Linked DNA regions of Homo sapiens: regions 1 and 3 are each linked to region 2. Evidence: promoter capture Hi-C in 16 types of primary human blood cells and fetal thymus (Javierre and others, 2016). All regions are on one chromosome and are shown on one strand. Each heading gives the region's core, a stretch centred on a gene start or on the middle of the fragment in contact. The rest is flanking DNA. Distances are from core to core; before and after follow the strand shown. Region 1 holds the start of CERS2 (ceramide synthase 2). Region 2 holds the start of TNFAIP8L2 (TNF alpha induced protein 8 like 2). Region 3 overlaps MINDY1 (MINDY lysine 48 deubiquitinase 1).

Region 1 (3,808 bases), core at 979-3,478, 180 kb before region 2:
ATCACATCTAGAAACACTTTTCCACCCAGACTTCACTCCCCCATACACATGAAGAGACATGGTATCTGTCTACGCTCTCTCTCACACACACCTGCCTTGGAGGCACAGATGCCACTTTCTGAGGCACAGGCTGGAGAGGGGCCAGAAGAGCAGGGATTTAACTGGCATTAGATTAGCAGGAACTTGAGCAGGACTCTGTCCAGCCCCAACCTTTGCCCCAACTCTGACTGACACCCCCACAAGACCCCTCTAGGTGGATGAAAGGAGCAGAGGATCCCCATGGGAGTTTGTAGATCCAAACGGCTGAGAAGGCAGAAGTTTCGGCCTGAGAGGAAGGAATTCTCTCAGACTCCAGGTGGTCAGTCTGACTGGCTCTCATAGTTTGGAAGAATAACTGAGGAAAATAGAAAGGAGTTGTTGACAAGGGAGGAGTGACAAAGGTCCCACCGGCTCCCTGCTTCCACTGAAGAAGTCCTGAATAGTCTTCCTTGTTGAAAACTTTCAGGCAACAGAAGCAGGTCATGTACTAGAAGTCTACAAGCCATGGATGGAGCCAATGAGAGGTGTGTTATCCCTCCAGGCTGCAGGATGGGCCTCAAAATAAGCCAGATTGTAAAAAAGAGGTGGGTGAGAGGCAGTCAGAACAGTAGTCCTCAGCCTCATCTGGCCTACAGCTTGTCTGCAAAGTCCCACCAAAGGCCTCCACGGACCAAAACACTGCATGAGACTATGGCCCCAGGGGCAGGGAGACGCCGGTGGGTTTGAGAGACAGCTGGGGCGGTGTTGAAGGACACAGTGAGGGATCAGCCAGCCTATGGCCAGTGACAGGGGTAAAAGGAGGCCCTTCCTCCCAGGGGAAAATCTGGCCAGAGGCCCCAGTGAGGGAAGTGGGGGACCAGGGGAGAAAAGGATCCCTCTCTGGAACAGACTGTGCAGATCACGGTATGGTCAGCGCCAGGTCCTCAGGGACAGGACTGCAGGCAAGTCCTTACCCTTAGGAGCCCCTTTACATGTGCAGCCACTCACACCCCGGTGCGGTCATCCCGACTCCGGTATGCGGCAGCAACCGCCACCCACCCCTGCCCCAGCACAGATATGGGGGTGACTGCCTGCTGGAGGCCTGCTCGGACTCACTTCTCCAGGAACAGGGGCTCACTGCATTCGCCACGATCCTCAGAACCCCCTGAACCTGGGCCTGGCAACTCAGGTGACTGAAACCAGGTTTTGATGCCAGGAGCTAGGCTTAGGGAGGGAGAGACTCCAACTGCAGGCTAAAGATGAGTGCTCTACACCTGCAGTCAACCCACTTGCCACGGGCCTCTAGTGATTAACAAGCTACGGCCCAGAAAGCCAGTTCCACCAGGAGCTCCCTTGCCAGCCATCCACACCTCATAACGGTATGCCTTAGCCCTACCGGGCCGGGGCAGGCGCTCCGGGCCGCTCCTTCCTGTTTCCCGTTAAGCACATGGAAGCTCTGACCTCGCCTGCGAGGTGGGCACGGTGGGCCGGTAGGAAGAAAACGGGGCAGGGCCCTCCCCTCTCCTCCCACCCAAGCCACAGGACGCGTCCAGGCCAGGGCAACCCCGCGGGCCGCTGCCAGGGTGGAGGCTCTCGCGCCAATGGTCACCAAGCTCCTCCACTCCCCAACAAAGGGAAGCCCACGGCTCGGCCCCGTCGCCCGCAGCCCCCGCGTCCCCACCTTCCGCCCTACCTGTTGCCCGGGAAAGCTTCTCCGGCTCAGGGCGGCGCTGCCGCGGACACCGCGGCGCCAGGCCCGCCGGCCCCGGCCGCTCCCTTGAGGCGCTGCGCCCGCCTTACCCGGCGGCCGCCGCCATGAGCGCCCGCAGCGCCCCCCGCCAGCGCCGCCTCCCTCCTCGCCCCGGCCCCGCGGCCTTCCCAGCCCGACCCCTCCGCGGCCCCGCGACAAAGCGGCACCCGGGGCTCCCAACTTTTCCGCAGCCCCTTCCCACCCCCGCGCGGGGCTCGGGCGCCGGGCGGGGGCCCCGACTCACCCGGCGGCAGCGTTGGCGGGGCCGGGGCCGCTGCTCCGTGTACTCCGTCTGCTCGGGTGGTTGCTCCGAGGCCCCGAGGCCTGGCTCCCCGCGCCTCTCCTCCCTCTTCCGCCCGCCCGCCGGCCCGCGCCCGCCCTCGCCCTCCCTCCTCCGCCAGCCGCCGGCGCCGCCGCCGCCGCCCGCCGAGCCCAGTCGAGCTGAGCCCGAGCCCAGCCGGGAAAAAAAGGCCGCGAGCAGCCCAAGGGCCGGGAGGCTGGGCGTGACGGGAGGGGAGGGCGGGGCGGGCCTCTGCGCTGCGGCTGCCCCTTCGCCCCGGCGCGGGAGGCCAGACCCCAACCCTCCGCTCCCGGCCCCACAGCCGCGTCCACGCCCGTCACCTTGCGCTAGAGAAACCGCCGACCTGGGGAGGCGGGTGCGGGCTCCTTCCGCCACTTCGGTCTCTTTTCGGGGTGGGAGGTCTCCCACTGGGACCGACACAGACGCACTGGATGCCGCGGGGTCCCGGGCTCCGAGCGGCGGTGTCCCTGTCCCCTTACTCCTACCCACCCCCACCCACCCCCAACTGCTGTGCGGCCCCCGGTCCCCGCCAGGGTGGGCACATTCCCACTTCCAGCCCCACGGGGCGCGGGCGGAGGAGGGTGCAGCCCGGGGATCCTGCCCAAGTGCCTCGCGCCGAAGCTGAAAACCTCTCCAGGGCAGACCGAAGCAGCCGACCCTCGAGACCCAGTCGGAGCCTGCGATCACTCGGGCGACCCTCGCCTACCCCGCCGTAAAAGCCGCGGCCTTTCCACCTAGGTGCTACGGGACCTACCCCCGTGGCAAGGAAGAGCAAACCCGAACTTGCGCACACCCGGCGGCCCTGTCTGAAAGAGCCACCCCAACTTTTGTTTTGTAAAATGTATGAGTTTTCAAATGACACCACGTTTATCCGTATTCGATTTCGTGTTAAAAAGTGTTTTCCGGCCGGGCGCGGTGGCTCACGCCTGTAATCCCAGCACTTTGGGAGGCCGAGGCGGGCAGATCACCTGAGGTCAGGCGTTCGAGACCACCCTGGCCAACATGGTTAAACCCTGTCTCTACTAAAAATACAAAAATTAGCCGGGCACGGTGGCTCGCGCTTGTAATCCCAGCTACTCGGGAGGCTGAGCCACGAGAATCGCTTGAACCCTGGAGGTGGAGTTTGCAGTGAGCCGAGATCTCGCCACTGCACTCCAGCCTGGGCGACAGAGTGAGACTCCGTCTCAGGAAAAAAAAAAAAAAAGTGTTCTCCCCTTGGCCTGGCGCCGTGGCTTATGCCTGTAATCTCAGCACTTTGGGTGGCCGAGGTGGGCAGATCACTTGAGGTCAGAGTTCAAGACCAGCCTGGTCAACATAGCGAGACCCCCAACTCCTTTATAAATTTAAAAAAAAAAAGTTTTCCCCTTGAGTCGTGTGGTAAAATTACTGTTTCAGAAGTAATTACTGTTGGAAGATGCAACATGGTTTTCCTAGAAAGCTGGTCTTAACTCCTAACGTGAACGAGTGGTGACTAAGATGTATTTGAGGGCTCCTATACAGGGAGAGCTGCAGCTTACTCCATGGAGAGGTACTTTTGTCAAATTTCTCACCTAGATGAAGTATTGCCTTTTTTATGCTGTTGCAATCAGAGCCTCTGACAGTAGCTTGTTTCCCCGTTTATCTGGTCAAGTACTCGTAGGAAGGAGTGCAACCCCCACTAATCCAGTTGGAGGGCCCATCCCTCATCTCAGGCCCTTTCTGGAGGGTAAGGAGGTAGAGGCTGTCCGACCCAACTGTTT
Region 2 (3,495 bases), core at 13-2,512:
TCGCCAGATTCCCCATAAGATTCTTGATAGCAAGTGTTTTTGTCTCATTCAACAACTGTGACTTCCAGGATGGGTGCAGTGGCTCACGCCTGTAATCCCAACACTTTGGGAGACTAAGGTAGGAGGATTGCTTGAGCTTAGAAGTTCAGCCTGGGCAACATAGTTAGACCCTCCTCTCTACAAAAAAAAGGAAGGCTTGTGAGCCTCTGGTCCCAGCTACTTGGGAGGCTGAAGTAGGAAGAGCTCTTGAGCCCAGGAGGTCAAGGCTGCAGTCAGCTGTGATGATGCCACTGCACTGTGGCCTGGGCGACAGAGTGAGACCCTATCTCAAAAACAAAACAACAAACAAACAAACAAAACCCAATTGTGGCTTCCCCTCATTTTGTATCCCTTTAGCAGCTACAAAGTAGCTACTACAGTAGCCTACTCAGTAGGCCCTGCGGGGTGCGTTGGCTCACACCTGTAATCCCAGCACTCTGGAAGGCCAAGGTGGATCACCTGAGGTCAGGAGTTCAAGACGATCCTGGCCAACATGGTGAAACCGTCTCTACTAAAAATACAAAATAAGCCAGGCATGGTGGCACAGGCCTGTAATTTCAGCTACTTGGGAGGTTGAGGCAGGAGAATCACTTGAACCCGGGAGGCAGAGGTTGCAGTGAGCCGAGATCACCCCATTGCACTCCAGCCTGGGCAACAAGAGCAAAACTCTGTCTCAAAAAAAAAAAAAAAAAAAAAAAAAAAGGCAACTCAGTAGGCTTGTTCCTCTACGCTAGTGATTCAGTGCTGTGCTGGCACCTGCTGGTCACCTGTGGTGCAGCAGCCCTGGTCCCAGCACCTTCCTCCCTTCAGTATTAAGGGTTGTGACAGTCTGTGCTCTTACCTGGCAATCACTGGAATAATATATTAAATACTTGCCCCACAGCACCACCTTTCAATCTTCAGAACTTTTCCCACTGACCTCCTACCCCAGAAATTTGGGCTTTACATCCTTCCCAGTACTGTAGAAATGTAAGGACAGGATCTTCAGGAACTGGGCAGCAAGAAAAGAAAGAAGCAATTTGAGAGTGGAGGATGCAAATCCCTTTCCCCCCTTCAAAGAATTGAGACTATTTCCAACAGAATTCCACTCTTTTTGACCTTTGTCTTATTTCTAGGTTGCTCTTGGGCCATAGGCCTTCTTGGTGACAGAAGTGATGAACCGGAGGTTAAGCAGAGAGTAGGTAGGCGGGGCTCAAGGGGTGGGGCCAAGCCAAAGGGCTCTCACACTAAGTGAAGCTTCTCCATTCTGTAAGCTTTCCGGGAACATCCAAGGCAAGACTGGCACCCAGCACAGCAGGTGAGGGACCGGCAGTGACAGAATGGTAGACTTTAGGGGTAATGGTGGCAGAGGAATCTCTAGCTCTTTCAGTCTTAGCTTTTCATATTGTGAAACTCTCGCTTGTACAATTCTTGGGTCCTTTGTAGAGCTTAGCTTAGTTTTTCTGGTGGCAAGGCAGCCTCTGAAAGACCTGGTTTTGGATGCGGTGGGGGCAGGGCTGAGGGATGCAGGTGGATCCACATCCATATGGATGTGTGCGAAATGCAAGGAAATCTTAGGAAACAAGGAGATAGATGGGTAAGGGCCAGAGGGAGAGTATGGCCAGGCCAGAGGATCATAGGGAGGACCCAGACAAGAGAAAAAGGGAGACTGAAACAGGGAGAGAGGGAGAAGACAGCGGAATAAATGTGAGACGGCAATGGGGGCAATGGAGAGCTGGGTAACAGGAAGGCCAAGGAGGAAGGAAGGCTCACATGGAGCAATCTCCTCTTCCGGCTGGGGAGCATGGTCCAGAAAGCCCCAAGGCAAGCTGGGAGCAAAGCAAGGTTCAGGTTTCCACTGGAAGGATTCAGCTGGGGAAAAAAACCCCCACAGTCTCCACCTCCTCTGCCTCTTCAGACTCCCATTTTGGTTTGGGGGAGAGGGCGAGGCTGCTCCTCACTGCGGTCACAGCCACATCCTGCAGAGCAGAGGAGGGGGAAGTAAGAAGCAAAACAACCAGAAGAACCACAGGCGAAGACCATGGGGAGAGAACCCTGGACACATGGAGCTGATATGCCACCAAGAGGGTCCTGAGTTCAGTGTAGCAGAAGGCTCAGACCTTCAGGACTGCCTGCCCTTCTTGAGGTGTTGGCTTCTCGTGCTTCCTCAGTGTGCTTTAACCACACTGGGAGCATTCCGGGGAAGGAGGTTTCTCTGGATTATTTGGTTTGAAGCCCATCTTTATAATTTACTAGTGACTTTGGCCAAATTGCTATATTTCTCTTCGCTTCAGTTTTCTCATTGCAAAATGGGGATACCTACCCTAACCTTACACAGGATTGGGAAGGCTAAGATGACTGACGTAAAGCACTTGCATATAGTAGGTTCTCAGTAAATGTTAGTTATTACTCCTATTAGGATTCCTGGGATGCTTATGCTTCTTACTTTAAAGGAAGTATAGTGCACTAGCTGCCACTGGCTTTGGGGGCCAAAAAATGAGTTGCGTTTGATCTTGGGTAAATTACTTAATGTAAGTATCATTTGCTTAGCTGTAAAACAAGGATGGTAATATCTATGCCACACAGACATATGGCACAGAGTCAGTGTCCAAAAATGGTAGCTGTAAGAATTCTGTCAGGCTGGGCGTGGTGGCTCACGCCTGTATTCCCGGCACTTTGGGAGGCCGAGGTGGGCAGATCATGAGGTCAGGAGTTCGAGACCAGTCTGGCCAACATGGTGAAACGCTGTCTCTACTAAAAATACAAAAATTAGCCGGGCGTGGTGGTGGGTGCCTGTAATCCCAACTACTTGGGAAGCTGAGGCAGGAGAATAGCTTGAACCCGGGAGGTGGAGGTTGCAGTGAACAGAGATCACACCACTGCACTCCAGCCTGGGTGACAAAGCAAGACTCCGTCTCAAAAAAAAAAAAAAAAAGAATTATCTGTCAGGTAAGCCCTGTCTTCACTGCAGCAGCAACAGCCTACTTCCCCTTGAGATGTAACTTGTGCTAGGCTAGCCTCCCGTGTGCCCACATTCCTCCAGCCGGGGCTATCGCCACTCCCGTGGGCTGTTTTGGAGTCAAGATTTGCTACAGCACTAAGGGGAAAAAGCAGGCAGGAGCAAGGCATAGAGGACTGAGGGGCCCCAGGGGGCGGAGAGGATGACAAACAAAGATGATGATGACATGGAAACTAAAGAAGCAACAGAAAAGGGAAAAGCCATTTCTCTCTTTCTAAGGAAGCCTGTGGCCTTTCTTCTAGTGACTGACCACATACCCCACTCTCCAGGACCCATGGAGTCCTTCAGCTCAAAGAGCCTGGCACTGCAAGCAGAGAAGAAGCTACTGAGTAAGATGGCGGGTCGCTCTGTGGCTCATCTCTTCATAGATGAGACAAGCAGTGAGGTGCTAGATGAGCTCTACCGTGTGTCCAAGGAGTACACGCACAGCCGGCCCCAGGCCCAGCGCGTGATCAAGG
Region 3 (3,500 bases), core at 876-3,375, 160 kb before region 2:
TCGGTATGAGCATGTGGACTTTTTTTTTCTTGGAGATGGAGTCTCGCTCTGTCATCCAGGCTGGAGTGCAGTGGCACAATCTCTGCTCACCGCAAGCTCTGCCTCCCAGGTTCACACCATTCTCCTGCCTCAGCCTCCCAAGTAGCTGGGACTACAGGCACCCGCCACCATGCCTGGCTAATGTTTGGTATTTTTTTAGTAGAGACGGGGTTTCACCGTGTTAGCCAGGATGGCCTCGATCTCCTGACCTCATGATCTGCCCGCCTCGGCCTCCCAAAGTGCTGGGATTACAGGCATGAGCCACCGCACCCGGACCCTGAGCATGCGGACCTTTTACAAATATGTGTGGCCTTGGGGGGAAGAAAGGGATGTCTGAGTGTATGTCCAGTTGGGTGTGAGCACGGTGGTCATTCTGGCTAAGCGTGGCATGGAGTCGTTGGGGCTGAGATGCCACATAAGACCCTGCTCCCCCCATTTCCCATTGTTCTCTGGGCTTGCCTGATGGCTCTTAGGATAAATCCTTTGAGAACCAGAGACCCCTCCCTCTGCTGCTCAAATCCTAGAGAGCTTTGGCAGTTTCTAACTTTTGAAGACCAGCATTGTTTAAAAATTCCACTGCCCCCTCCTAGGGGAGGATCATACTTTCCTGTCCCATCGACGGCAGGCTTATCCCTTATGGCTTGCTCTGGCCAGAAGATGTGAGCAGAAATGACATGTGTCATTTCCAAACAGAAGCTCTAAGCATGAGTGCACAGTGCCCCTCTCTCTCTCTGTTCCCACATATATTCCAGATAAAGGATCTTTTGTCAGCTGGGTCCCAGAGTGAAGATGGTGTGGGACAGAACCGTAGCCAGTCCACAGTGGACACGCACCAGGAGCGGGAAATGAACCTTTGTTGTGGTAAACCACAGGGATTTGAGGGGTCACTTGCTACCACGGCTTAATCTAGCTGATCCCAGCTGGACCCACGAGAAAAAGGCACCAGGAAATGACAGCACCGCAGCACGCCACCCCCAAACTCGCATTACCTTATGCTTAGTCATGGTGCTAAAGTGGTTGTTTCGGAAAAAGACGCTAAGTTCACCCTCCTTAGCAGCTGCTGTCAGCTCACACAGTCCGTGGTAGGTCAGCTGGGCCGCGGTGGTCTCCAGGAACTGCTCTGCAATCAGGCCTGCCAGAAAGGGACGAGTCGGGGGAAACTTGGCTTAAATTCAAGGTCCACAACAGGAAGGACCATCCAGAGAGCCCCTGTCAAAAGCCCCGGGGGGTCAGTCCCACCTTCTGACGTCCCTTTCTTGAAACCTGGCTGTATTCATTCACTTAACAAATACTTATAATAGAGCAGCTACCTTGTGCCAGGCACTGGGGATACCTCAATGAACTAAACAGAAATTCCCCAAGCTCCTTCTTGTGAAGCTTATATCTAGTGGGATGTGGTAGGAGATGACACCCAATAAAAAATAAGCCTAAGTAGCTGTCATTCCCTCCACATACTATCCATGAGAAGGGGAGGAATGTCACCTTCTGTCACGAGGTTGGTGTCACTGGAGTGTTTGCAGGTGATGATCCTCTCCACCAGCTGGTTGTAACTCAGTTTCCCAACTGCACGCACAGCCTCAGGACTCTGCTTGGGTAGTGGGATGTGGGATACCAAAAAAATTGGGATTTTTTTTTCTTTTTTAAGGAAGGAAATGAACAAAGCTCACAAGGACTACAACCCTGTGATGAATGGTTCCTAAACACTTTTTTTTTTTGGTCTCTCAAAAAAGAAAAAAATTTCAGGAACCATTCATCATAGGGTTGCTATGTTGCCCAGACTGGCCTCGAACTCCTCCCAAGTAGCTGGGAATACAGGCATGTGCCACCAAACCCATCTGCTTCCTGAATTTTTGATGTCTAAAGAACTGACCTATTTGCATGTAGTTTGCTTGTATTTGCATGTTACCCCCAAAATAGATTAAAATTCAAGGAATTCTGTACTGGGTCCAGTCTCTAAACACTATTTCCCTCCCAAGCCAATCTAACCCCTAACTCCCTAACCTCTACCCGACAAAAATTTGCCTCTCTCATGTCAGCTTGAGCTGGATAAGGTCCCAGTGGGCCCTCCCACCCTCACCTGTGGATCAACAAGCCAGCCATGGTACAGAGGTATGCCTAGCAGGTCAAAGACACTGCACTCGGGTGTATACTCAAAATCAGAGACGCCTGTGAATCGCACATTGACATCCAGACCTGTGGCCAGTTTAGGCAGCACTGTCATTGCATCATCCACATTCTGGGGGTAGAAAAAAAAATGATGGAGATTCTAGCCTTCTCTCCCACCACTCCACTCCCACCTGCAGAAATTAAAAATTAACCTTGCTGCTCTTCTTCCCTGATTCTCTTACAAGCCACTCCATTTCTCCCTTGCCTCAACCCTTCTCTATCTTATATAAATGAACATTGTTTTTCTTTGAGAGTCTAAGTCTAATTCTTTCATCCAGGCTGGAGTGCAGTGGTGTGATCCTAGCTCACTGCAGCCTCAAACTCTTGGTTTCAAGTGACCCTCCCACCTCAGCCTCCTGAGTAGCTGGGACTACAGGCACGCACCGCCATACCTGGCTAATTCTTGAAAAAAAAAATGGTTTTTTTTAGAGACAGGGGTATTATTATGTTGCCCAGGCTGGCCTCGAACTCCTGGCCTCAAGTGATCCTCCCGCTTTGGCATCTCAAAGTGCTGGGATTACAGGTGTGAGCACCCGGCCAATGAACATATTTTCTAGGACAAAGATAAACTCTCCTCTGACTCCTGCAGAATGAAATCATGGTTCAAGGAAACCTCTGAAGAAGCAACAAAAGCTTATCTTAGTATTACAAGATGTCCCCTTACAAACCTGCAAACCCCTATGCCTGCAGACCTTTTGCCTCACCTGCTGAAAATTAAGCTGAAGTCCCTCTGACTTCTCCTGGGGCTTGATGGACAGGAGGCAGTTTCCTACAAGACAGGGCCCCTTATCAGCTTACCCCACCAATCATCCCAAAAGCTAAGTTTCCTCTTCTCCTGGAGAATGCGGGTAATGTCACAGAACACAGATTTTCAGAGCTGGAAAATACTTAGAGTCTAATCCAGACTCTTCATTTCTCAGAGGAGGCGACAGCCTCATAAAGGTGAACGGCCCACCCAGGGTCAGATACAAAAGCTAAGGGCAGAATTGGTGTTACAACCCAGGACTCCCGACGCCTTTGCTTTTCATTCTCCAGCCTTGCAGAGAAGCCCCATAGACCCTTACCCTCCCTGCTGTATCAGAACCCCCAAATGGAGATCCCTGAATAGTCTGGATTTCTGGCTGAGTGGATAGCTCTGGAGCCCCTTGGGTAATTCCTCTTCAACGCCCAGTCACTCACCAAGATGGGCCATGAGCTCATCCGATGTGATCACTTCCTTCTGCGGGGGGAGCTTCACCTGGAGGCAGAAGGGGTGATCACGTGTGTGCTTTCCTCCAAAGAGCACTGAAGGAAGA

The links. The method cuts DNA at HindIII sites, captures the fragments that hold promoters and counts their contacts. A CHiCAGO score of 5 or more calls a contact.
Region 1: the fragment with the promoter of CERS2 here is called in contact with the fragment with the promoter of TNFAIP8L2 in region 2 in 7 of 17 cell types (naive CD8 T cells, total CD8 T cells, naive CD4 T cells and 4 more); the score reaches 6.7 in naive CD8 T cells.
Region 3: a contact is called between a fragment that was not itself captured here and the fragment with the promoter of TNFAIP8L2 in region 2, in 7 of 17 cell types (megakaryocytes, M2 macrophages, erythroblasts and 4 more). The highest score is 9.6, in megakaryocytes.

Annotation. Positions count from the first base shown.
Region 1 is chr1:150,972,607-150,976,414 of GRCh38, forward strand. CERS2 (ceramide synthase 2) reads right to left here and starts at 2,229. Exons shown (of 11, transcript NM_022075.5): 1 at 2,013-2,229. RefSeq lists enhancers at 447-1,378, 1,336-1,480, a cis regulatory region at 1,408 and silencers at 1,584-2,073, 2,094-2,533. The HindIII fragment of the contact is 5,677 bases long and covers 1,726-3,808 here.
Region 2 is chr1:151,155,387-151,158,881 of GRCh38, forward strand. It overlaps TNFAIP8L2 (TNF alpha induced protein 8 like 2), which reads left to right and starts at 1,263. Exons shown (of 2, transcript NM_024575.5): 1 at 1,263-1,336; 2 at 3,280-3,495. The coding sequence starts at 3,312. TNFAIP8L2-SCNM1 (TNFAIP8L2-SCNM1 readthrough) reads left to right here and starts at 1,263. Exons shown (of 7, transcript NR_144937.2): 1 at 1,263-1,336. It also overlaps a transcript of LYSMD1 not described here. The HindIII fragment of the contact is 1,285 bases long and covers 1-1,273 here.
Region 3 is chr1:150,998,341-151,001,840 of GRCh38, forward strand. It overlaps MINDY1 (MINDY lysine 48 deubiquitinase 1), which reads right to left. Exons shown (of 10, transcript NM_001376665.1): 3 at 3,385-3,442; 4 at 2,910-2,974; 5 at 2,117-2,275; 6 at 1,522-1,624; 7 at 1,029-1,171. Among named protein-coding and RNA genes, the nearest start is that of MINDY1, 6.8 kb to the right of the region's middle. The HindIII fragment of the contact is 1,422 bases long and covers 1,415-2,836 here.